Regions from separate parts of the Homo sapiens genome. Here region 1 is linked to region 2. Evidence: promoter capture Hi-C in human tissues and cell types (Jung and others, 2019). All regions are on one chromosome and are shown on one strand. Each heading gives the region's core, a stretch centred on a gene start or on the middle of the fragment in contact. The rest is flanking DNA. Distances are from core to core; before and after follow the strand shown. Region 1 has its middle 17 kb from the start of EPB41L4A-AS1. Region 2 holds the start of STARD4 (StAR related lipid transfer domain containing 4).

The links. The method cuts DNA at HindIII sites, captures the fragments that hold promoters and counts their contacts. A contact is called where the count stands out against the background at its distance.
Region 1: a fragment that was not itself captured here is called in contact with the fragment with the promoter of STARD4 in region 2 in 3 of the 25 tissues and cell types used here (dorsolateral prefrontal cortex, lymphoblastoid cells and mesendoderm cells).

Annotation. Positions count from the first base shown.
Region 1 is chr5:112,142,108-112,144,813 of GRCh38, reverse strand. It overlaps a transcript of EPB41L4A not described here. Among named protein-coding and RNA genes, the nearest start is that of EPB41L4A-AS1, 17 kb to the left of the region's middle. The HindIII fragment of the contact is 7,979 bases long and covers 1-2,706 here.
Region 2 is chr5:111,511,265-111,514,134 of GRCh38, reverse strand. It overlaps STARD4 (StAR related lipid transfer domain containing 4), which reads left to right and starts at 1,600. Exons shown (of 6, transcript NM_139164.3): 1 at 1,600-1,750. It overlaps STARD4-AS1 (STARD4 antisense RNA 1), which reads right to left and starts at 1,909. Exons shown (of 7, transcript NR_040093.1): 1 at 1,627-1,909. RefSeq lists enhancers at 1,136-1,275, 1,756-1,965 and a silencer at 1,356-1,725. The HindIII fragment of the contact is 5,039 bases long and covers 1-2,870 here.

The sequences.
Region 1 (2,706 bases), core at 28-2,527, 630 kb before region 2:
ATTTATGTCACACATTCAACTATAACAGCAGTAGCAACAATTGCAACACCCATGGCCCCAATGTCTATCACCTGGGATGTCATTGCTACTTTCACCCAATTTAGATATAAATGACCTCTAGGTTTTCTTCTATCTCTACAATCCTACGATCCAGCTCACAAAAGATATCATCTTTGAGGATTAGGTGTAAATTCAGCCATGGCCAGTAAAGCCTCTAAAATCTCTGTATCCAACCAAGACCAGGCGCGGTGGCTCATACTTGTAATCCCATCAGTTTAAGAAGTTGAGGCTGGCAGATTGCTTGGGCCCAGGAGTTCAAGACCAGCCTGGGCAACTTGGCAAAACTCATCTCTACAAAAAATTAGCTGAGTGTGGTGGCACACACCTGTAGTCCCAGCTACTTGGGAAACTGAGGTGGGAGGATCATCTAAGCCCTGGGAGGTCAAGGTTGCAGTGAGCCGTGATTGCACCACTGTACTCCAGTCTGGACAACAGGGTGAGACACTGTCTCAAAATAAATAAAATAAAATCTCAGTGTCTAGAACACCAAAAGCTCTATGAGAGTGCAATAAGAATATTTGTATGTTGGTAAAAGAATGGGAAGTTAAGTATAATAAAATGCTTTTCCTTAAAAGTACATATCTATTGGGTTGATTTCCCTCATATTCCCAGGGCTGCTCCATATCAGGGTGGTTAAAATAATTTTAAGGAATGATTATAGGGAGAAAAGTAGGCACAGAGCCCTGAATTCTGTTTCTGAAGGCAGTTTATTTTCTGCCTTAGTGGACTATAGGCTTCAAGTCCAAAGATCCAGTCCAGTGATAATAAGGGGTGAATTGGAGGGTGGCCATAGCATAATTTATTATTCCAGGCTTCTGGTAGTATTGTCTTTGGCAACTGAGCACATTTCCCCCTTCTTTTCTATGTCTTCAGTGCAGACTCTGCTTTCTCCCTGTTTATACAGGGTCAGCACATGAAGTGATGTGGACAGAGAGCCCCACCTCCTTGGCTGCTGTGGTTGGTTCAGGTATTAACACGTGACTCAAGCTGGGCCAATTGGAGCCCTTGTCTGGGACTTTTCTATATTGGAGTCAATAGGGAAAATTGCTGTTGCTTCTATGTTCCTGGCACTAGAAGAATAGCTGAGGATGGCTGACTTTATCTCTTGTAGAGAAAGCCTGTCTGCAATAGTAAGAATGAGGCCAACACAAAGAGAGACAGGGAAGATAGGGGAGAAATGGTGATATTGAGGTCTGGATCTCAGTCTGTCTGACATCAGTGCTAATGAACCACTCCTTTTAAAATTTAAGTTGATTTGTATTTGTCATTTATATCCTGACTAATACAGCCTTCAGAAAGAAATATTAGAAAAAGCACTGTCATGAACTATTACTTCATTAACATAAAAACAGATCATTTTGGTATGATGATAATAAAAGTAGCAACAATCCATTAAGAATCTACTATATGTTAGGCACTGCAGTAAGTGCATTACATATTTTTTTCATTTAATCTTCACAACAACCTATGTAGTACCTGTATCAGTTTGCTATAACTGTATGACTAACTGCCCTGAAACTGAGTGGCTTGAAACAATAATTTGTTTAACTCACAAGTCTTTGTCTTGGTTGGGTAACTGTGGTCTGGACCAGGCTCAGGTGATCATAAATGGGCTTGCTAACGAGTCTGCGGTAAGTTGGCAGATTTCTAGGACTTACTAGTCTAGGGTGGCCTCATTCATAGGTGTAGAGTTTGGTCACCTGGGCACACAAGAGTGGATATTGCCTCTCCAGCAGGCTAACCCTAGCTAGTTTCAAGCAGGTGCCAAATGAGTGAGTGGAGGCATGTGAATCCTCTCATGGCTCACTCTTGGCACTGGCACGCAACTACTTCTGAAGCATTTTCTTGGCCCAGTTTCAAGGAATGAGGAAATAGTCTCTATTCTTAATGAGAGGAACTGAAAAGTCAAGGAGAGTGGATATAGAAAGGCATGGAAACAATGGGAACACAACTATTCTATTATGAAAGGTATTATGTGCATACACTTCAAAAGTTAAGAAACTTACTCAAGGTCATAAAGCTAGAAAGCAGCAGAGACAGGATTTGGGCCTTAATCTTCTGACCGAAAATCTCATTCTCTTTCAACACTTCTTTCTAATATTGCTGATTGATCTGTGCAGTCCAGATGTCACAGTGTAATTAGTTTCTAAAATAAATCTGTTCTTAGATTACTTTTGAATGACTTCTAAGTTATTATAAAAAAGTTCTTTGTTGTAATAAAGGTATTAACTTTCCATGAGTATATTCTTGACCCACACCCATAAGCATTTTTGCTCATATTTGTATCCACAATAAAATGAAGTTCATATTTTCATCTTGTAGCACAGTATCATTTGAATTACCAGATGCTATTTTAGAAGACTAGCTAAAATAACTTGCAGTACCTAGGAAGTTCTTAAATGGTGCTTACAGGAACTTGACTTCAGACAAATGGGAAGCCAGAAGATGGTGAATGAAAGGATCTATACACTAAAAAGAAAGCTGTCGACAGACAGAAGAAAGAGAGCTGCAGGACAGTGGAACTCCATCCCGTGGGATTCGAAGGAGAGGAGTAGTGGTAAGTGGCTATTATTTAAGTTGAGGAGTCTTAGAACCTAGTGTATAAGGCTCTGTGCATATCCCAGAGCCAGCCTTCTCCAAAGAAAC
Region 2 (2,870 bases), core at 351-2,850:
TAATAATGACAGATACAACTTTTTTACTTTTTTGAAATAGATACGTGGATTTATTCCTCTCCACCATTAAACCTGTGTAAACCCTCACAGTAGGAATTAGGCCTTTCATTTATGGTCCCAGTGGTCTTCACAGGTGCCTTGACAAAGAGCTACCAAGCACCATCTGAATTTTATGGAGACTAAGAGCCCAGTTTCAGAGTCCAGCAGACCTCAGCCAAATTCCAGTTTCTCCACTCAGTAATTAAGCAACCTGCCTTAAGATTTATGTCTGGGGCTCCTCGCCTGTAAAACACACCTACCTTAGGGGGCTGTTAAGAGGATTCAATGTAATTGAATTAAGTAGGTACAACTTAATTACAAAGCACTTTTCCCCAACCATTTCAAATTATTTATCTACGTATTCATCCATCCATCCAAAGCACCTCAATAATTGGCCAATAATTCCTAAGTGAAAGGAGCTTTACAACACACGAAGAACTCTTCTATTATGTCACACGAAATTATAAATATAAATATAAAACAAATTATTTTACATATAAACGATGGAGGTAAAAAATAAATCGGCCAATAATAACTAGCAAGTAGTATTTGGTAATTCTTTTGGTGAGGCCGACTTAAAAATTTACGAAATATTATTTATTTTCATTGCAAGTCTATCAGAAATCACTAATGGTGTAGCACTGCATTCTTCCCTGCTTTTGGTTCTCAAACTACGTATCTTAGTAAACGCAATTTGCAGACAAACCAAGCCTCGCTAATCAGTGCATCATGGCTACTCTGGTAAAGGAAGAAATTCACTGTTTGCCAAGCATCCCATCAGATGGGTGACTTCACAGCCACTGGAAGAAATCTTTCTCATGTTCGAGTAGATGGAAACTCCAAAACTGTGCAGTTGCTAAATCCACTTGTCACACCTCCTCCTTTTCTCTGCTTCTAAGGTTGCCCTCTAAACTCTTTATCTGAGGATGGAAACACACACACGCACCCACACACACCCACACCCACACACACACAAACGTATTTGGCTAAAGGTCAATTCACATAGTGGCAGGGACTTTCGTTTATATGCATTTTCCTTCCCAGCTCTCTCAGTTCTGAGTCAGGCTAAGCAGGAGGCAGAGAGCTCGTCCTCCTCTGCATGGGCGCTTTTTCTTATTTGACTTTTAGTCCTGGGAGGAGTAGCGTAGTTGCGAGATACTAGGATATCCACAAGCGGGATGAATTTGGACCTTATCCCTCACTGTGATCCTTCACTTCGCCTTCTGTTTCAATTTCTCCCAGTCGGTTTACTGCTTGACAAAATTCTTTCACAATTAAGTGATCACAGGACAACCCAACCCAACCAATCCAAACCTGCAGGCAACCCCAGACATCCAGGGAACCCTGGCGCGGCTCGGGCCAGCCCACACCCACGCGGAATCATTCCATTTATCGGCCACCAATCAGCCCTCCACACGCTCCCGCGCCAGCCAATCCGAACAAGCGCACGTTGTTCCGGCCACCTCCTCTCAGCCCCCCCTCCCCGGAGCCCCCGGGATCGGGCCAGGGGGCGGGGCTGGGGGCTCGGCCCGCCTTGCCCTGAGGCGCTGGGTGCCTTCCAGTTGGCTGCGACCAGCGGTGACTTACAAGTTGGCTGCTGTCGCCTGCGCATCGGCGGGCCGGGAGGCTGAGCAGTACTGTTGAGAGCGGTGTGAGGTGCTTGGTAGCGCGCCGTAGCTGCTTCCACGTCCTTGCTTCACCTCAGGTAAAGGTAAGGAGAGCCACGGAGCCGCGGCAGGATTGGGGTGGCCCGTGTGGAGGGCGACTGTGGCGCCCGGGGCGTCCTGCCAGGTGCGTCTTCTGGACCTGCTCCAGACCATGGATCTGGGGAGCTCGCGGTGGACGTTGGGGATGGCGGGCCCCGGCGTCCGGGCGGGAGAGGACCTCACAGATGAAAGAGAAACCTGAGCCCCTGGGAGGGGAAGCGGCGAGCTGGAAGGATCCCAGGGCTTGCAACTCGCCCCTGCGCGCCGCTCACCTATTTAAGTACTTGGAATCCATTAGACCTCAGTGTCCTCAGCTGTTAAATGGGAGAGGGGCGGTGGTAATCCCGCTTGATTTGGGACAGTCCTGTTCTTTGGAGGTCACCGCGCTTCCTGGTTCTTAGGAGGTGCACAGACAGCGCAGGGGCAGCCGCGTCCCACCAGGCTTCGCGGAGGTGATGCCAAAGACAAGAGACAAAGTTTTCCCAGGGCTTACTGCCTTCCAAGGTCCCTGCTAAATGTATTAACTCAAATAATTTCTCACCAAATCAGTGTCATTGTTTTCCCGAATTTACACTTGAGAAAGATTACCTTAGATTTTTAGGTTCAGCAGCCAGGACAAAACTTGACAAATATTTGGTGGGCCCAGGTTTTTTATATGAAGTCTTTTCCAGCCTGTGATCAGCTTCCACAGTTTTACAAGAGAGAGCTTTAGGCTCTGAAGTCAGACGCCCTGGGTTGGAATTCTGGCTCCATCACTTATGAACTGTGTGATCTTGGACAAGTGACTCAACCTTCCTGTTGCTATTTTCCCTTTCTGTAAAACAGGGAAAATGTATAGACATTAAGCTACTATTCTCACTTATGGAAGACCTCAAGATATCTAAAGTATGCCCATTTACACCAATCCTAGAGCTTCTGAATAACTAAAATTCCTTTACCATAATGAAACACATTTTCTCAAGGAGGACTATTACTGTTGTGAGGATTAAATAAAATAAATGCAATGTAAAGCAGCCAGAAGGACTGACCATGTAGTAAGTGATCAATAAATGTTATTGTTATTTTTTAAAATCAAGTACAGAGCATTAGGTTTTTTTTTTAATCAAGTATTAGAGCATTAGGGGT